4 separate regions of the Homo sapiens genome follow, and all the other regions are linked to region 2. Evidence: promoter capture Hi-C in human tissues and cell types (Jung and others, 2019). All regions are on one chromosome and are shown on one strand. Each heading gives the region's core, a stretch centred on a gene start or on the middle of the fragment in contact. The rest is flanking DNA. Distances are from core to core; before and after follow the strand shown. Region 1 overlaps ANXA3 (annexin A3). Region 2 holds the start of FRAS1 (Fraser extracellular matrix complex subunit 1). Region 3 overlaps BMP2K (BMP2 inducible kinase). Region 4 overlaps LINC01094 (long intergenic non-protein coding RNA 1094).

The links. The method cuts DNA at HindIII sites, captures the fragments that hold promoters and counts their contacts. A contact is called where the count stands out against the background at its distance.
Region 1: a contact is called between a fragment that was not itself captured here and the fragment with the promoter of FRAS1 in region 2, in 1 of the 25 tissues and cell types used here (heart left ventricle).
Region 3: a contact is called between a fragment that was not itself captured here and the fragment with the promoter of FRAS1 in region 2, in 1 of the 25 tissues and cell types used here (dorsolateral prefrontal cortex).
Region 4: a contact is called between a fragment that was not itself captured here and the fragment with the promoter of FRAS1 in region 2, in 1 of the 25 tissues and cell types used here (H1 embryonic stem cells).

Annotation. Positions count from the first base shown.
Region 1 is chr4:78,594,481-78,600,049 of GRCh38, reverse strand. It overlaps ANXA3 (annexin A3), which reads right to left. Exons shown (of 13, transcript NM_005139.3): 8 at 4,613-4,669; 9 at 4,163-4,256; 10 at 2,636-2,731. Among named protein-coding and RNA genes, the nearest start is that of ANXA3, 45 kb to the right of the region's middle. The HindIII fragment of the contact is 5,153 bases long and covers 1,657-5,569 here.
Region 2 is chr4:78,054,957-78,060,032 of GRCh38, reverse strand. FRAS1 (Fraser extracellular matrix complex subunit 1) reads right to left here and starts at 2,710. Exons shown (of 74, transcript NM_025074.7): 1 at 1,948-2,710. The coding sequence starts at 2,023. RefSeq lists an enhancer at 3,153-4,124. The HindIII fragment of the contact is 7,312 bases long and covers 1-5,076 here.
Region 3 is chr4:78,857,339-78,862,530 of GRCh38, reverse strand. BMP2K (BMP2 inducible kinase) reads right to left here. Exons shown (of 16, transcript NM_198892.2): 8 at 2,844-2,947; 9 at 1,063-1,142. Among named protein-coding and RNA genes, the nearest start is that of PAQR3, 80 kb to the left of the region's middle. RefSeq lists an enhancer at 1-76. The HindIII fragment of the contact is 3,192 bases long and covers 2,333-5,192 here.
Region 4 is chr4:78,660,672-78,665,432 of GRCh38, reverse strand. It overlaps LINC01094 (long intergenic non-protein coding RNA 1094), which reads right to left. Exons shown (of 3, transcript NR_038308.1): 2 at 2,461-2,515. Among named protein-coding and RNA genes, the nearest start is that of LINC01094, 17 kb to the right of the region's middle. The HindIII fragment of the contact is 3,718 bases long and covers 1-3,606 here.

The DNA.
Region 1 (5,569 bases), core at 2,984-5,483, 540 kb before region 2:
CTGCCAGACGTGTTTCCTGTCAATCCCCAGTGATCATGCCCTTGTGCTTGCCCAACATTAAAAGTTGCTGCTAAGACTTTTCTGTTGGATTTTGAAACTTTTGCACATTTTTCCCCATCTTTTAGAGATGGGATCTCACTTTTGTCACTCAGGCTCTGGTGTAGTGGCACCAACATAGCTCACTGGAGCCTCGACCTCCTGGGTTCAAGCACTCCTCCCACCTTAGCCCCTTGAGTAGCTGGGACTACAGGCGTCCACCAACCTACCCAGCTAATTTTTTATTTTTTTGTAGAATCTTTAATATATAGATTAACAATATAAAATGGAAAAAAAATTAACCAGTTCTATCATTGCCATTGGAACAGTCTCAGAATGCTGCTCTCACTATGTTGCCCAGGCTGGTCTTGAACTCCTGGCCTAAAGGGATCCTCCTGCCTCAGCCTCTCAAAGTGATGGGATTATGTGCATGAGCCACCACACCCAGCCCAGTCTTTCAGGTTTCTGAAATCAACATGTTCTCTCTATTGAAATAGTTCTACTGAATAAAGCCTCTCCTTACTTAAGTCTGGATTTGTTCTTATTTGGCAAGTAGTATGCTCCTATTACACGATTCTAAGATGACACAGCTCAGATCGTTTTTCATGTCAAAAACTATGTGTTGACCATTGTATTGGATTCCTTGTGTATGAAATATGCAGAGTAGGCAAATCTATAGAGACAGAAAGTAGATTAATGATTATAGGAGCCAGGGGGTGGGGAGGATTGGAAAGTGACTGTCAATAGTTACAGGGTTTCTTATGCGGCTGATTAAAACGTCCTAAACTTAGATTGTGGTGATGGTTGCAAAACCTTGTGACTACATTAAAAAGCATTGAATTGCACACTTTGAGTGGGTGAACTTTATGGTATGTAAGTTATATCTCAATAAAAAATTTTATAAACTGGTTTATTCCAATGGTAGACTGAAACAAAATGAAAGTGTAACATATTTTGAACTTCAATTGAATTATAAGGTCTTTTTTTACATGATAAAATAATGTGCATTATAGCCCAAATGTAATACATTATTCAATGATATATTTCCAAGAATGCTCCTTAGCTCAGTGAATGAGAGTTTGTACATCTCAACAAAGTTTTTCAAACATTACGGCTTAGCAAGAACACCAAATGAAAAACAGCAAGCAGAATTAATATAAAGATTAACAATATAGGCCAGGGGTGGTGGCTCAAGCCTGTAATCCCAGCACTTTGGGAGGCAGAGGTGGGCGGATCACTTGAGGTCAGGAATTTGAGACCACCCCGGCCAACATGGTGAAACCCTGTCTCTACTAAAAATACAAACGTTAGCCAGGCGTGGTGGCGTGTGCCTGTAATCCCAGCTACTTAGGAGGCTGAGGCACAAGAATTGCTTGAACCTGGAAGGCGGAGGTTGCAGTGACCTGAGATTGCGCCACCACACTCCAGCTTGGGCAACCGAGCGAGACTCCGTCACAAAGAAAAAAAAAGAAAAAAAGATTAACAATGTAAAATGGAAAAAAAAATTAACCAGGTGTATCATTACCACTGGAACAGTCTGAGAACTAATTATGAAGACTGATCTCAATTCTACTTTTTTAATTGAAGAAGAAAGTTTTCCCTTTCTTAGCCTCCTCGGCTTATCTTTTAGCAATTCAGAGTCAACAATGAGCTGAGATTGTGCCACTGCACTCTAGTCTGGGTGACAGAGTGAGACTCCATCTCAAAAGAAAAAAAAAAAAGAAAGAAAGAAAAGAAAAGCCACTGATATCTTTCATAAATAACCAAATATGGTGGATTACCAAACTGGCTTAGGTCTTAGTTGCATGTGTGTGTGTGTGTGTGTGTGTGTGTGGTTTTTTTAATTAAAGAGACAAGATCTTGCTATGTTGCCCAAACTGGCCTTGAACTCCTTGGCTCCAGCAATCCTTCCACCTCAGCCTCCCAAGTAGGTAAGACTACACGTGCATGCCACTGTGCTTTGCCTACGTCTCAGTTTTCAACAAAGCTCAATAAAAATGCCAGTAGAAATAAAATATTTCAGCTCTCAAGAAGTCTACAAGCTAAACATGGTCACAAGACAAATACAAATTTAAAAAGCAAGGTAAGATTTAAAAAGATGGCTGGATGTGGTAGCTCACACCTGTAATCCCAACACTTTGGGAGGCTGAGGTGGATGGATTGCTTGAGCTCAGGAGTTCACGACCAGCCTGGGCAACATGGTGAAACCCCATCTCTACAAAAAATACAAAATTAGCTGGGCCAGGTGGTATACATGCTTGTTGTCTCAGCTACTTGGGAGGCTGAGGTGGGAGGACTGCTTGAGCCCAGGAGGTTGAGGCTGCAGTGAGCTGAGATCACACCACTGCACTCCAGCCTGGGTGACAGAGTGAGATCCTGTTTCAAAAAAGAAAAAGAAAAAAGACTTAAAAAAATAACTTCTTCAAGCATTCATTTAACAATATTTGTTGAGCGTACTGTGTGTATCCTGGACCATGTTGGGGGCTGTAGGGAGCAAAAAAAATGGATCAGTCAGGATTCTTGCCCAAAAGGAGCAGGCCTCGGCACTGAGTTAAAGCAAGTGCAAAGTAACTTAGTTTACCAGCACTCGAAGTCTTACCTATGGCCAACAGTAAGTCTTCAAAATGCCCAGATAATTCTCCTTTTATGCTGTCCACAATGTCCTTTTGGCTGATATTTCTGTATTCATCAAATGCTAAAAAGAAGCACCACAAAATTATTTAAAGCAACGCAGTTGAGCACATTTGAATATATTCTAGTTTTTTATTTGATATGCAGAAGATCAAGTAGCAAGCTAAAAAACTCCCTCTTTAAACCATGAAAATCTGGGCACAGAAGTTTTTGTTTTTCTTTTGTTCCTTTTTAAGGAAATCATCTACAACAAAACCCAAACTCCCTAGATGATTTTCTTCAATGATCTCTCTTTCTCTTTCCCCTTCTCTCAAGCAGTAAGCATTTTAAATAGCCTAAATAGTTAAATAATAAATAATTTATCCAGTAAGTTGGGCTATTTTAAATTTTATTTATAGCAGCACCTGGGAAATGATACTATAATCACTAGTCAAATATGTTTTCTCTGGTAAAGAAATCTTAATTCTGAAGACTTCCTTGTGCTGAATCATTTCCTAAGGTGGCATGGCCTACTTCACACCTCCCAGAAGGCATTTGAATTTCTTGATCAGTATTTGCCCCAAGCAAAACCTGTACATATGTCACCAAGTATACAGGCATATTTTGTAAGCCAAGTATATTTTTCCCCAATACATTTTTAAAAAAAGAAATTTTGGAGAGAGACCTAGGGTTATCTGGTTTTTGTTTTTCAAACAAAGACATGAATAAAGCAACTATCACATACTGTTGTCATTATTTTATAAAATAAATGTGATTTTAATGCAAAAGTTAAGAAAGAACAATTTCAGAATTTCAAAGTCACAGTAATATCCTTATGTTTACTCATTGTTCCGTCAACTCAGCATAAGCTTGGTCTTGCTGTGTGGTTGTTCTGTAAACTAGCATCTGGAAGCCACAGTCAGAAGATGTTCACAGTAAATGAAGGTTTAGTTTTCTAGGTGTTGTTGCTTCCAGAACAGTTCTAGGAGATGCCATGAGCAAGAGGGCGGGTGCCCACAATTCCATGTAATAGCTGGTCTGACGATAAGAGTTGATCCATTCTACCACTTACCTTCATATCAGAAATAGCTAAAGGTTAATCAGTATTGATGTGTCAACAGAGACTCACCTGCAGTGTCTGGCTTTTCTGGAAGTGGCTAACTAGGGAGAACTGTTAGGTGGAGTGGAAGCAGTTGGGCTTCTCCATTCCACAGGAACAAGCCCTTCTACTCTCACCCTAGAGGGTGGCCTCTTTTCTTCTCCCTGCCACCTCCCTCCCCCATCTATTACCTGGTACTCACTAGGTAATCTACTCAGCCTCTATGGAAAAACAAAAGTGTAGTGTCAGTACTTCCTTGAGTTACAATACAGCTTTCCCATTTTGTTTCCTGAAGTGTGAATAACTGGAACAGACTTCGCAATTTTAAACTTCGTTTTTCTAGATCTTTGTATACTAAATGCAAAAACATTTGTAAAAACAACATACAACACAAAGGATTGTAATGTGAGTTTGTACTTAGTTTTAATTGAGGAAAGCTCCTTAAACACAGGATCTCAGTGAATTTGTCTTCATCCGTGCCCCATCTGTTCTCACCAGCTTTATAGAGAATCTATTCACAAGAGAATGATATTAGAGACACAATTATTTTCTTTTTGAGAGGTGACATGAGAAGAATCGGAGTTGTATTTCAGAGGTCAGTGCCATCATCTATTATCTAAATCTCTCACTTTCAGAAGACTAGAAATCAAAAATTGGGCTGTCAGGAGCCAAGGAGAATGATAACTACCACTGGGGCAGGCAAAAAGTTAGGGTTCCGATCCCCAAGCTTCAGGCTTCTCTTTCAAACAGGAAAAAAAAAAAAAGAAAAGTCCCTGTTGCTGCTATTTTTCTCCCTTTTCACATAAATGCAAAGGCAGCCACATAGGAGAATAGGTAAAGGAAATGTTTTCCCGCTTTGTTACTGACCTGGGCATCTTGTTTGGCCAGATGCTCATCCACTTTCAGACTTTCATCTCTTCTGCCCTAAACAGGAGGACGAAAACAAGGGCCATCCTTTAAAGATAGAAGATTCTAACACATAGTACTTCAACCAGCAGGGGATCTTAGTGGTTTTTCTTTAAGGCAGGACAGGTTGCACAGAAAAATCATGTACTCAGGGCTCCAGTTCTGGTTCTGCCATTGACTAGTCATGAAATTTTTAGCAAATCACACAATTTTGGGGGCCTCAGTTCCCTCCTCCGAAAATTCATATATATATATATTTAGAGACAGGTTCTCACTCTCTGTTGGCCAGGCCAGAGTGTAGTCCTGCAGTCATAGCTCACTATAACCTTGAACTCCAAGGCTCAAGCCATCTTCCCGCTTCAGCCTCCTGAATAGCTAATATGACTACAGGTGCACACCACCACACACAGCTAATTTAAAAATTTTTTTTAGAGATGGGATCTCGCTATGTTGCCCAGGCTGGTCTCAAACTCCTGGCCTCAAGCTGTCCTCCCACCTCAGCCTCCTGAATCTCTGGGAATACAAGTGTGGGCCACTGTGCCCAACCCAACACAGAGGTCTTATGTGGAAGAAAAGACAAGGTACAAACTGGGAGAACATATTTGTAACATGTATCTGATAAAGAACTTGTATCCAAAATACATAAAGAACTCTTAAAACTCAATATGAAAATAACAACCCAATTTAAAAATGGTTGAAAGATCTCAACAGACATCTCACCAAAGAAGACGCACAGATGGCACATGAAAAGATTCTCAACATTGTATGTCATTAGATAATTACAAATTAAAACAATAAGATGCCACTACACAACCTATTAGAAGGGCTTAAATCCAAAACACTGACAACACCAAATACTGGTGAGAATGTGGAGCAACAGGAACTCTCATTCACTGCTGATATGAAAGCAAAATGGTA
Region 2 (5,076 bases), core at 1,461-3,960:
ACTCAGACATCTATCAATTTATCAATCCAATTTGTGAAACAGCTATAGAATGCTCTGACAGTAAAGTCAAACAATAAGAAGCAAAGTTTCCAAAGACTCTTTGGAGTAATATCCACACCCTCTCTCCGCCCCCGCCCCCGCCCCCCGTCTCTACCCCCAGCTTTCTGTGCTTCACATCCCCCCATCCCCACCTCCCAGTCTAGATTCCGCACTTCTTAAACTTGGCCCACTGGATCAAGCAATCTGCCAAAGAGCGCACCCTGCAGGCTCTTAATAATAATGCCTTTTGTTGATTTCAGAGTTTTGGTTCCGACAAGCTGCACCATTCCAACTGCCCCCTGGTGAGCTATCCGGGAGTGATAGCACGTTTCCTGCGTTGCTGGGATAGGACTCTAAATTTTAAAAACTGCCACCAAGTGAAATTAATTTTTCTAAGTACCAAGTTCAGGTTTGGGTGGCCTGGGGTGACTCTCTCATCTGGTTTATTGTTATAATCAAGCCCTACAAGCTTTTTTTTTTTTTTTCCAAAGTACGCGCCCACACGCACATAAACAATAAAGTTATATTTCTACAGGACTTGCACTGTTGGGAGAAGGCTGCACAGGCCCCAGATGTGCCTTTCGCGGAGATTATACACACTTGACACACATCCCGGAAGAGTGCAGAAGGCAGCACCTGGACCCACGGGAAAGTCCCCCACCCTTGTGCGTGGATTCCCAAGGCCTTTCTCTTGGGAAGCCAGCAAAGAAAAGGCAGCTGCTCCAGTGACTGGAGGTCGACCCGAGGCAGAGCTTTGTCCTCCCCGGGCCTCCCGCAGCCCCCAGTCCTGCGCCAGAGCTCGACTCCCGGGAGCCGCCCCGCGCCCCTTCCTAGGCACCAGGGCGGAGAAGGCGGCCCGCCCTGCGCCCGCCGCCGCCGCCCAGCCGCGGCTCTGGTTTGCGGCTGGGCAGGTGAACTCTTCTTCCCGCAGCTGGATGAATAATGAATGGAGCCGGGAGGGGAAGCCGAGAGCCAGGCGCTGTGGATTAAGCCGTCTTCCTCCCAGCCCGCCGGCTCCCTTCCCCCTCCCTAAGCACTGGCGGGGCGACTTCCCTGGCTCCTCGGAGCAGGAGGGAGCTCACAGCGCCTCGCGTCCCCAGGCCCGGCATCCCATGACCCCAAACTCTTGATTTACTTATTGACTCATTTATTTGGCTGAGCCCGGATTGCATTTGATATCATGGCGACAACTAGTCTCACGGCTTCCTTTTCTCTCCTGCGGCTCCGGGGTTTTACAGGTAGCTTGGAGCCTCGGAGGAAAACCAGGAGGCGGAGGGTGAAGTAAAAGAATGAACCTAAACTCTTATTAACCACTTTTGTTCTGGGAAGCAGGCTGGTTCGTGCTTCTCCGTACTGGAGAGATTTCTTTCAGTGCAACTGAACTGCCCACGACCAGAACACGCTCCAACCAGTTAGTTATAAAATCCTAACTGGACTTTAGGGGGAGACTAACTGAGGTAAGGAGGGCGGGAGAGCGATGGGGCTTTAAGATGAAAGACTGTATGTTTCTTAGGAACAGAAGTATTTTTAAACAGGTAAGAGCAATTGTTCGCTCCTCACCTGTGCTCCATGCAGTTGCTTTCCCTTCGGGGAAAGGTAGGTGGTGGAAAGAAAAAGGATCAGTTTCAGAGATGTCACCTCCATCGGCCACCCACCCACCCAAAAGCACTTAGGGCAGAGAGGGAGGCCGTTTCGGGGGTGTAATCCGAATACAAAACAATCAGGAGTAGGAATCTTATCAGAAAAAGCCTATTCCAGTTTCACTTCCACCTCACCCTTCCCAGAAAAACTTCCACCTCACCGAAATACCATAAAACCTGCTGAGATTTTTAAACTGCACGATCACTCACACATACACACACACACGCACACGCACACACACACACACACGCGGCACCGCTCTCTCACCTTCGGAATGATGAGGCAATACTGCAAATTCCGCCAACGCTAGGGCCAGCCCGAGCCACACTTTGAGGACACCCATCGCCGCCTCGGCACCCACGATGGAGGAGCCCAGCCTTCAGCATCCAAGAAGCGGCTCCGCCAAAACGCTGGCTCCGGCGCTTGGAACCCGGGCGCACTGAAGGTGGGGGACCGCGGGCCTTTACCTCCGGGAAAAAGAGATGGACGGGCGGAGAGCGACACTCATCAGCCCGGAGGCGCCGGAGCGGGCTGGGGTTCAATTCACTCGCTGCTCAGGCAGAGAGCGCGCCGAGTTCCCCCGCAAGGCAGGACGCCAACGTGAGCTTTGGGAGAATAAGAGGAGGCAGAGCACAGTTCTCCGCGTCAAAATCTCGCCGGAAAGTTGCTGGTCACTGGCCGATGGGATCTTCCAGCATTTCCCTCGGGCTAGACCCTTCCGATCCCGGGTCCCCGACAGTGGAAATCCTGGCTCTGGTTTGTCCGAAGCAGCTTTTTAAAGTTCGCTTGGCACCATACGTCGGCGTTGCGTCGGCACCGCGGGTCGCCGGGAGCCCCGAAAGACCCACCCACACCCACTCCTTGGTCGAGCCACCCGGCTCGGCAGACCTCATCTGCCGGGGTCCGCTCGCTGGAAACTGTGCAGCGCTGAGGGCAGCTCCGGGGACTCGCCCGCCCTGCAGCCGCACCGCACCACACCGCCTCAGGCTGCGCTCCCTGAAGCAGACTGTTCGGAAGCTTCAGAGGAAAGACTGGGGGGCGCTGCTGCTACTTTCTCGTCCCCGCCCCTCGCCTGGGTGAGGAGGGCTGCGGGGACGCGGCTTGCTGCACACCAACACCCACCTCCGCGCTGAACACCCCGGAGGAGGTCTGCAGGGTAGAGGTGCAATGATTACGGGAGTGGAAGAAGAGCCATAATTTTAATTGCACGGAGGAAAAAGCTAGCGAGGCTGGAAAAGACCCCCAAACTCAAGGCCACTCTGGCGAGAGAGCCTGGAAACGCCCAAAATACGCCGGGTCTGGACCCCGTGTTTAAAGGACACACGTTCAGCCTTCCTCTAGTCTCCCTTGCCTCCTTCCTCTCTGCTTTGCTCGGTGTGAAAATGGACCCAGAGACTCGGAGCTTTGGCGAAATTCCAGAGAGTCACGTGGGGAAAGGGAGAAGCGAGGAGGGAGGTGAGGGGAGGCCGGGAGAGCAACCTGATCCCTTTATTCATTCTGCTGGAGTTCAGATTGGCTTTGTCTGGGGAGGAATCAAAAGTGCTCATACCGGGGACGGAGGGGGTGGAGATAGGTTGCACAGTTCTTGCTCAGGCACACCGGAAGGCAGATGAACCGTGTCCACATCCCTTGTTAGGGGAGGAACCGATTCGGCGGGCTGGGGGAGCGTGTGCCCACATCAAAGGCCCTGGGGCTACCTCCCACCCCCACAGCCCGCCACTCCTGCTGAACTAAGTGCGTCCGGGGGACCTGATTGATCCTTCTTCCTCGCTCTGGGACCCTCAGGCTGTTGCATCCTGGCTTTTACCAGCAGCCCGGGAAGATCTTGGTGTGTGTGTCCTAGGCGGAGCCTGAGAGCAAATGCACCTTTCCCTTTCCCTAGGAGACTCTGTCAGTGGAACACAACGCGGTCTGGGAGCTGTGGGTCCAGCTGCGCCCCCAGATGCCAATGGCTGGGAAAGTAACATCAGGACACGGCCGACTGGGGCGCGCACTTGAAGAGCAGAGGCCTTGATTCCCCGCCAGGACTGACTGACGGCAGCTATTTTTATAGGACCGAATAAAAATAGCTGGTCCACGTTTAATCGTTTTATAAGGGAACAGTTGCATCAGAGAGATGCTGACTGGGTTCTGATTGGCCCAGAGAAGAAACGTCTCGGGTCCCTCAATTGAGTCGGGATGGGCGAAACTGTTGGAGGGGAAGCAGTTGCATGAGCTGTGCTGGCGGGGGTCCCACTTGTTTCCAGTCTTCACGAACACCATGACGCGGGCCCACGTTCTAACGTGCACTGACGCCACTTGGAACAATTCACTTTTCCGAATAACTGGAATAACTTGAAACTGGCAGGTCCCTGTCAGTGTTACTATTCAGCCAGAACAAAGGAGAACCTCTGACAACCTGGCTCTGAATCTTAAGTATTTGGAGGACCCAGGGTTTGCACATTTCGCCCTCAGTCTCTCTGTTGGGCTGTGGTCATTCTAGGGACAGAGGTTGTATCATCTTTGTATAATTGAAGCACATAGTAGGTGCTCTTTAAACATTTGTTGAAATAATGGATTAAGTGCCTGAGAGCAGCGGCCATATCAAGGGGAGCTGCGGGCCTTAACCTCCTCCCAAAAAAAGACCCCTCCCTTTTTATTTAGAAAGTAGGGCCTGTGCGGTGGCTCACGCCTGTAATCCCAGCACTTTGGGAGGCCAAGGCAGGCAGATCACGACGTCAGGAGTTCGAGACCAGCCTGGCCAACATGGTGAAACCCCATTTCCACTAAAAATACAAAAATTAGCCACGTGTGGTGGCACATGCCTTTAATCCCAGGTACTCTGAAGGCTGAGGCACGAGAATCACTTGAACCCGGGAGGCAGAGGTTGCAGTGAGCAGAGATCTCACCACTGCACTCCAGCCTGGGTGACACAGCGAGACTCTGTCTCAAAAATAAAGGTCGGGCGGGGCGGGGGGGTGGAGGACATCTTCTCAATCCATGTAAAGTGATGTGCAAATTCAAACTCAGCTTCCAACACACTCTGACAACCAGACGGTCACCCTTAAACCCCCTCCTAATTTTGCAGCTGCTACTGAATGGGAGTAACTTAAACCGTTTGTTCTCTCAAAAATCAACAATTTGATTTTATTTTAAAAATCAAGCTGGGTGCAGTGGGGTGCACCTGTAGTCTCAGCTACTCCAGAGGCTGAGGCGGGAGGATCACTTGAGCTTGGAAGTTGGAGGCCATGGTCCACCCTGATTACGCCTATAAATAATCACTGCACTCCAAAAATCATACAATTATGGCACAGGTCTCAATAAGATATCTGTTATACTTGCTAATTGCAAATATGCTACTTTTCAAAAAGGAAAAGCAATAAATAAAGGGAGAATAGCACTACCAAGTTACCCTGA
Region 3 (5,192 bases), core at 2,679-5,178, 800 kb before region 2:
TATATGTCCCCTTTTGTCCTAGTCCTGTAGTTTCACAATAGTCATTCTTGCCTAAACTGCCTGCCTGCTATAATTTCACTCCACACCCTTCCAAGTGATTGACTATTCATCATTCAAGGAAGAGTGCAGCAACTCCCATCCGCAGGGAAAGCATCCTTTATGTGCTCCTGTTTTCTCTGTTCCCAGTCTTTCCCCTCCTCCACACTCTCAAAGTAGCCTAATATCTATCAGGTTGTAATCGTTTACTTGTCAATTAGAACGTGAACTCCTTGGAAATAAAAACTGCTTTTTTTTTCTTTGTGTTTAAATTGTCTACATCTTGCATATAAAAAGCATATGAACAAATATATTTTTGTATTGTGTAAACAAATAAACTTTGCATAAATAGCATACAATACAAAATTGCTGTGACCAAGAAATCTCCCCAAATGTAGTATTATACCTGTCTGATAATCTAAGATATAATCCTGCTTATTAACTTTTAAATTCAAAAAAGTGTGAGGGGGGGAAAAATCAATCATTAACAGATTCAGTCTTAACTTACATAATATAGTTCAAACTTATTATTAATATAATAAATACTCTGAAAAATAAGATTGAAAACATATACCAGCCTTAAAAAGTATTATAATCACTCATTACAAATTCTACAAAGTACATACATATTCTATATATTCTAGTTACCTGTAGGAGCTATTTTTTTCTTTCCTTAAATTAAAAAAATAAACATCTATAAACTCAAAACATAGTATTTCCTAAACTAGAGTTGCTATGTGATGAAAATGACAAATCCTGTCCAAAAAAAAGACCCGCTGTCACATCATCAGTTAAATAATCACTTGTCATAGAGTGAACAGTTCCAGTGAGATGATGCCAGACTCCTTATCTAATATTTTTAAAAGCTTATTTTGTATTTGCTATCTCAATTATACCACATACAATAAGCAACACAACATTCTTTGTGGATGAAGATGATATTTAATCAATTACACTTGCTAGGATTAAAAACAAGACCTATCATTTTTTTTAATGCCTTTTCAATTTCAGCATAGTTTTGCCTACCTGGCTTTTATTTGGCTTTTCCTAGCAGCTGCTTCACTAGCAGTCATCGGTTCAGGAAGAGCTGAAGGAATAGAAGAATTCTTGGAAGAAAAAAAATAAAACGTCTCATTTTAGTTTTTTATTTTAATTGCAGAAAGTTTTTGTAAGCTATGGATATATCATTGAACTTTAAAAGTACTATGAGACACTATTACTTTCACATCAGATACCTATAAATTATTCACATGTATTTGCCAGATCTAATCTGCAAATATCACTACATGTTACACAAATGTCAATTTCATATTCATGTGCCACAGAAACCTTGGAAAATAAGCAGAAGAACACCACTGTATCCATTTATAATTGGGTAAATCTTGAGTAAAAAGAAAGATTATATTACACTCGTAAATCAATAACTATTTTACATTTTGGAAAAAGCAACAAACACCAAGGATAAGAATTAAGTGTTGTTTCTACATACTACAGATAATTTTCAAGACACAGAATGTAAGGCCTGGAAAATGAGGGCAGAAGGCCTTGTTTATTTGTCTATACCCAATGTTTAGTTCTTTGTAGGTACTCAATAAATACTTGCTGAGTAAATGTCGAATGAGTCTACTTATCTACTTTTAGAACTGCAAAGCTTTCAGCTTCAACAGAGAAAAGAGTACATCAATATGGCGAGGGCTTCACAAAAAAAAAAAAAAAAAAAAAAAGGAAAGGTACCACATTCCTTCTTTTTTCTTAGTGGGGTAGATTAAGTTACACATAAAGGAAACCCTACAGAAACAGGTCAGGCCAGAATGATCTTTACAAAGTCAAGAATGGCTTATAATCAGTGATGATTGCAGAACCTTTATTAAGATTGGCAGAGACTTGCCATACACCATTCACCTAAAGTAGTTAAATGCACTGTACAGTCAGTGAATAAAATTGAAAGCTTTTGAATAATACTAACTATTGCCAACTGAGCACCTTCCATGGACTAGGCACTGGGTTTCACATGTAATCCTTATAATTACTATCCTTGTTTTACAGAAAAAGAAATGGACATTAAAGTAACTTACCAAAAGATTCAAAGTCAGTCACTGATAAGGACAAAACTGAATCTGGGTCTATTTACATTGCCTGTGCTTTTTAAAAAAAAACTTTTTTGTAGTTTTAGGGGATACAAGTGCAGCTTTGTTATAAGGATATACTGCATAATGGTGAAGTCTGGGCTTTTAGTATGACCATCACCCAAATAGTGTATATTGTACCCATTAGGTAACTTCTCATCCTTCATCCGCTTCCCACCTTTCTGACTTCCAATGTCTATTACTCCACTGTCTATATCTATGCGTACACATTGTTTAGTTCCCACTTAACAAGGCCTGTGCTCTTTATACCAAAGTTTCCCAAACTTACTCAGTTAACAGTGCTCCGTGTCTCAGTAATTGTTTACAACACTTCTAAGAAAAAAAAAAAAAAACTAACAGTCCTGTTTATTAAACTGTTAGGCCCAAATAACTTAATAAAATTAGTTTTGTGCTAAGTCAGAAAGATGTCCCTGTGTTTTCCTCAAAAATGCAAAATATTCTGCCTGAGTCTGCTGCAGCTCCCCAAGGTATCTCAGTGCATAGTTTGGGTACTGAAGCTTTATACCACAAATATCAAACACACAATCAGATCACTTGTCATGAAACAAGAAACTCTGAGTTTTAGCAACAGCAACAAAAAAAAAGTAACTCTGAAAGTAAATATATTCACATACGATAAAATGAATTTTAAATTCATATCCTACTTGAAAATCTACTTACATTGATGTTGGAGACTGGACAATCCTTTTTGGCAAATTTAAATGCAAAATATGACACTTGAAATATATCAGGTCTATGTTCCGGATCTGGTTCAAGCATGAACCCTGCAAGAATAGATCAAAATGTTAAGAAGTTTTATGAAACACACATTATACTACTTAGGGGCACATTATAAGGATAAAAAATATGTATTTTCTGTTCCACTCTAAGATCAGTGATGATTCTAGCAAACTTTATTAATGCCTACAGAAAATGCAGAAATTGCTATTTTATAAATAAAGCATTATCCCAAGCTAAGGGTAGATCAATCACAGAACAGCTCTACACTAGAAGTATGAATGACAAACTTGATTATTCTATTGAAAAAGTGACACAAAAGAAAAAGTGAGTTTAGTGAACACTGGGGAATTATTCAAGAAAGTTCCAAGGCCATAGTAAAAAGGTCCTTCAAGATAATTCTATTCAAAATAATTATTACTATTATCCAAAATACCTGTATTAATTTTTAAGTGATCCTTAATCATTAAGAAAAGCCTAAATTGTATATGTTATAATCTAACAAAGTAGTAATGGATTGGCACTGTCGTTTTCCAAAAACATACTCTCTTCCCATATTGATGCTAACAACATTCACCATAGTTCTGTATCTTAACATGTTATCCATATCATGCTCAGAAATATGGGCAGAGTTTTCTGGTTTTTATGAACAGATTTCAAAACAACCTTACAGCATTGCTTGAAATGCCTGATCTTTTTTCTACCAAAATGACCACTACCATTTGGTAGTACTCCACTTCTTGGATAATTTTTAATTCTAAATTTCACAAGGTTGACATTTATACTCAATTCCGTAAGTAAAAGATTTTGTTAAGACATCTCAAAGTCTACCTCTGCTTCATTAACTCTAAGTTGTTATAATGTTTAAATCCTTTTTAAACTACTTAAAATGTAAAATTTAAAGAATTAGATATTCTTAAGTTTGCTAATAAAATAATGTATAGAGAGATCTAAGTATGTAAATGGGTTAAATAAAATTATAAATCAAAATGAATTAAATCTTCCCTTCAAATTTAAGTAATATTTTGAATACAGAATGTGTGATACATCTTCAATGACATGATAAACTTATTTTGGCTAAAAACACAGTTATGTGGAAAGTTATAATTTATTTGAGAGATTCTGAGCTCAGTGTAAAATATACGAAAACTCTGCATGTAACTTGATTTTATATATTTATAATGCTAACATATATCACTTATAAAATGGATGTTTTTTATAATTTTTACCACCATTGCTAGACTGAAATAACTAAAAACATTTTAATTCTAATATTTGCTAGTTTATATTCAAACTCAATCCAAAAAAGATTTGAGGAATCTACAAAATTTATTTTATCTTGATACCAACAGATATTAAATGTTTTTAACGTAACAACAGTACACAAAATGGGGATAAATTTAAACATACTGTTAACAATAACTACTTATTCATATAATTTTAAAAACCAAACAAATCACACGAAACCTACCTAATTCACAAACGTATAGTCCTATTTTTCTATTCTAACAAATTTATTTGGCTTTTAAAATCTAATTTCAACAATAGCTAATTATACATATTTAGTCCTATAAAGAACTTGAAGTGGCACACAAAACTAAGATTTTTTTTAAATATATAAGAAAATTAAAACTAATGGAAAAATAGTGGCTTGGGGGTTGAGATGGACAGGATAATGAGGTCAGTTACAAACTACATATGATTTGGTCTTAAATGCAGGCCCAAAATTTGCTCTCCATTTTTTAGCTGTCAATATAAACAGGGCAACATGATCCATTACATGAATCACAGTGTATCTAATACAAAAACAAATCAGGTGCTAAGGAAAAACACTATTCGTGATACTGAAAGCTAGAGAGCAAATTCTCCGTTGAGTCTTTCTAAAGATAGCTCACACAAAGTGAACAACATCCTTAAGGAATAGCAGTGAGTGACACAGGGTCATGTTTTAAACACGCTATCAGTATGGACTAGTGGCCTAAATGCCATGCAGTAAAAGAAAGGGGTATGGTTTAAGAATGTACTTCTTTTGCGGCCTGGTTTAATCCAAGAAAAACTTTTTAAGTATTCAGAGAGGAATTAAATGATAGTTCAGGCATTCCTTGTTTTTCTTTGTTTTGTTTTCTTTCATAGCAATTGAAAAGCACTGAGAGAGAAAAAAATAAATTTGAGATTTTGTGTCCTAACCTATATGGGTATAGGTATTTCTGTATCTCAGGTTAAGCACAGCATATCCTCTAATGATTAGGTAGCTAGGTTGCAGGTAGAACTGATATTATCTTATAAGCAAAC
Region 4 (4,761 bases), core at 498-2,997, 610 kb before region 2:
GGTACAGGCTGTAAAAGTGGTTCTAGCTGATAACAAGTAGTTATCAACAAGAAAGCTAACACATTTTTACCACAATCCATGTTATAAAAATGATTCTTATAGACAATCTGCCATTCCCAGCTCTTAAAGAAGTAGCATAGCTGCCAAATGAATAACCAAATAGATATATTTAATGGGCTCTAAAAAGTCAAACATAAAACCAATTAATGAATTGGCTCTGGGACTCAAATAGCTTTTGCAGGAAACATCTTTACTTTCAGAAATAATTATAATGGTGTTTCTTAAACACTTTTGCCATTTCAGAAAGATCCCCTGAAATTACTAGGAACACATCAGGTGTCAGCATTCATATATTCTCACTCACTCTTCATTTTTTTAGGGGAAACAATGTATCCAAATTGACACAGACAGAACTTCTTTTAGTTGGTGTTGGCTGTCATTTTATTCAGGTTTAAGTATGAGTCTAATTACCCTCAAAGGACTTTTTGACAAGTTTATCACACGACCACCAGAATTTCTGCTGTGGGTGAAGGAAGTGTTTTTGGTGGTCACAACAACTATCCATGACATCAATTTAGTGAGTACAGACAAACACTTTTTAAAAATGAAATAGAACAGAATATGTAATATCAGAATGTGTCACTGGTAGTAAAGGTAAGTGTGTTTCATAGAACTTTTCCTGCAGTGTTGTGTTAGTCCCTTCTTGCATTGCTACTCTAAACCCCGAAAATCTGAGACAGGTCTCAGTTAATTTAGAAAGTTTATTTTGCCAAGGTTGAAGATGAGCCTGCGGCACAGCCTCAGGGAGTCCTGATGACATGTGGCCAAGGTGGCTGGGGCACAGCTGAGTTTTATACATTTTAGGGAGACATGAAGCATCAATCAGTATATGTAAGAAGTACATTGGTTGGGTCTGGAAAGGCGCGACAACTTGAAGCAAAGGCAGGAAGCCTTGAAGCCGAAGCAGAGAGGGGGCTTCCAGGTCACAGATAGGCGAGAGACAAATGAATGGTTTCATTCTTTTGAGTTTCTGATTAGCCTTTCCAAAGGAGGCAATCAGATATACATCTATCTCAGTGAGCAGAGGGATGACTTTGAATAGAATGGGAGGCAGGTTTGCTCTAAGCAGTTCCCAGCTTGACTTTTCCATTTAGCTTAGTGATTTGGGGGCCCCAAGGTTTATTTTCCTTTCACATTATAAAGAAATACCTGAGACTGGATAATTCATAAAGAAAAGAGGTTCACAGCTCTGCAGGCTTTGCAGGAAGCAATGATGCTAGCATCAGCTTGACTTCTGGGAAGTCCTCAGGAAGCTTATGATCATGGCAGAAGGCAAAAGGAAAGCAGGAAAGCAGGCATGTCACATAGTCAGAGCAGAAGCAAGGAGAGGGGGAAGGTGCCACACACTTTCAAATGACCAGATGTCTAGAGAACTCACTATTGTGAAGACAGCACCAAGCCATGAGGGATCCAAACACCCTCCCACCAAGCCCCACCTCTAGCACTGGGGATTACAATTCAACATAAGAGTTGGGCAGGGACAAATATCCAGACTATATCAAGTGCCTATGTGTATATTCTGTGTATACTGAGTGAGGATACTTAATGTGGGTTATGGTTTTAAAAAGCTTTGGAAACCACCATGTTAAGGCATTATCACCAAAGGAATTTTAGTGAAAATATAGTTTTTGGGTGGATGTTTCAGAGCACACAAGACTTTTTGTTATATGGAGTGGGGCACAGTGGAGAGAATTGCTGAGGGGTGAGGGATGTTGATGTCGAAAGTACAAAGGAGGGCAAATGAGCAAAACTCCACCTAATCCAGTTATACCTAGTGGTGGTCCTAGTCTTTGGTCATGGCTATGGCTAATAAGATTTAAGATATACCTGTGGGTAGCACTGGCAGAAAGAAAGGCAAAAGGGAGAGGGACAGAGAGAAGAGGAAAAGAAAGCAAGAGGGAAAGGTCAGAGTGTTGACAGTGTGAGTTGGAACAAAGATTGGGATTTATGTGTGAAAAAGAGGAAAAGGAGAGATAAGAGCAAAACTAAGAGACGTGCAAGATGAGGATTGGCAGATAGAATAACTTTCAGCTTTCAGCTGCCAGTAACGTAAGCTCAACTACAATGGCTCAAACAATAAATAAATGTATTGATTGGTTCACTGGCTTGGTTATGTCACAAGGATCCACAGTGTTGTCCTCAGTTGCTCTCCCCTTGTGAATATATGATGGCTATAGGATGGCTAAAGCAGGGCTGTGGGTCTGGGATGACTGGAAGAGCAACTGGGATTATGTGCTTCCTTATCCCATTCAAGGAGCAAAAGGCTGGATTCCTGTGGATCTCTGAATGACAAGGGATAATTTTCCAGAATACCCAGCACTCTTCTGCATACATCTCATTGGCCAGACTTGAATCACATACCCATTTCTGAATCTATTACTGACAGATGGATGGCATTACTTAGACCATTCGGATGCCTTTCTGGAGCTGGCATCAATCTTTCCCAGGCACATGACTAGAAGAGAGGAAAGCAAAATTGAGGTTCATTAGGAACACAGGAGATGATTTTTTGCTGAGTAGGCAATCAACAAAGTTCACTGCACACAAGAATTTTTAAAAACTTTGGTAATATATCCTAGTGGCTATAGTAGATTTGATATGGAAAATTTCCATCACTAAAACAGTTTCATTTTTAGAGTCCTATTATGTCATGTTCCTTCTCATAGAAGAATACCTTTGAAGGTATTTAAATAAACTTAAAGAAATCAAGTACAGAGAGTTTCTATTTTCTGTATATTTTACCACCAAAAGAAATCTCAATTTCTACCCCAAAATAATATGCTGTATTCACTCCCTAGAGACAATGCACAATGATTGACCTCCGTTGGAACACACATCATAATACAGAAGCACTAGCCATTGTGTAGAGCTTTACTTCTCTGCCTGATTCCCTCCCCCACTCAGAAGTTATACTTCAGCATTATCCTCCTATGTCCTAGCCAACTTTCTGCATCATGACACAAAGACACTGATGGTTAGGATCATTCTAGCCCGAAGATAGCAAGGGCAAAGCCAGCCAGGCTTAGATGAAACTCACACTGTTTGCTGAATGGCCACGGTGTTTTGAGGTTTCTCTTTATGAAAGGCTAGCATAAAGTCAACAGCCCACAGTTGCTCAAATCTGTGCTTTAGTTTCATTGCCACCACCAAACACTTCTCCACCCAGGAGAATTACAGCTAAGTGTTGTTTTAACTACATCCCCAGGGGAGTATTGAGTAAGACAAAAAGCATGCTAGGTCAACAACAGATCTTTTCTGTAAAAAGGAACATTTCAGGAAAATTAAACAAAGTGTAGAAAAGCCTTAGCTTGCAATCTGTTGTTGCAAAGTTCAAACAATGGCTTTCCTCCCTACTTAGGCAAACACCAAGCAGGAAGCTCTGAACAGAAAAAAAAAAAAAAAAAGACCGTCCAGAGCCATAGAAGAGAATAGCTCATGATGACAGTCATTGTTACTTCATTCCTATTTAGACACAATTAAGGCCATTAGTTCTTTAATTCCGATTCATCTGATTATTTTCAGAAGTTCTAGAGTGAGGACCTTACAATCCTAGAAATCCTACCTGATGAACTCTTAAAAATTGAAGCATAGCTTTTCAGTTATTTCAAAGCTCAGCTAAATCCCCAAATAGTTTGACTCGCCTTCCCTTGTTCCCTGGCAACAATGTGCAGGTAAATTGCTCTACCTGGGATCTCTACTGATGGTAGGGCCTATGGGAAAACAAGATTCATAGCTTGCTCACTGGTGTTTGCAAATATCTTCTGGAGTTTGAAAACTATACTTTTCCTATGTGGACCTTGTGATTTTCTGTTTGGAAAATTTTGTTATTGTCCTCCTCCTTTTCTTTTCCTCTGCTGCATAATTTCAACATTCAGTTTTCCGTTAATCGATGTCATAGTGCCATCCCACAACAATGTCGGCTGAGCTCACTGCTGGCTGCCTTCATAGTGACCAGCTGAAAATATTATAGGACTTTTCCCCATGAGCCCACACTGAACAAAAGCACCTTGCCACTTTTTTCTGTTTTAATATTTGTCTACCCCAAGAGGAGCTGGGCAGAATTCAAAAAATATTTGTCATCTGGGAACAGAAATAAACAAACAGGTCATATGAGAGGTCTTATTTTTTCAGATGCTCTACTGATTATCTCACTTTGTTGACTGATTAATGCCATTCCCCTTGAATAAGTCATTTATATTATCTCAGTTTCTATTCTTATGCTTCCTAAAGTTGACATTGCTAGGATGAGTAAATTCTTATAATAGGTGGGGATTTAGTGAGCACTGATATATTTGACTAAAAAATTTCTTTTATAAAGTGTTTTAAAAATAATTTAAAATTTCAAAAGCTCCTTAGGACATTACCTAGCATTTTAAGGAAAGCCTAGGACACTGATTTTCATTCCCTTCGGAGTTCTTCCAGCTTTAAAATTCTATGAATTTATGAATAGAATAGTTCCCCCTTATCCTTGAAGGATACGTTCCAAGACTTAGTAGATGCCTGAAACTGTGCATAGTACTGAACCCTAGACTGTCTATACTATGTTTTTTCAATCTGATAATCTAGATGGTTGCATCTACAGTGCAGATAACTGGACCAAAAGATGATTCACCTTTGGAAGGGACTGAGCGGAATGCTGTGAGATTTCATCACACTACTCAGAATGGTGCACAATTTAAAACTTATGAGTTGTTAATTTCC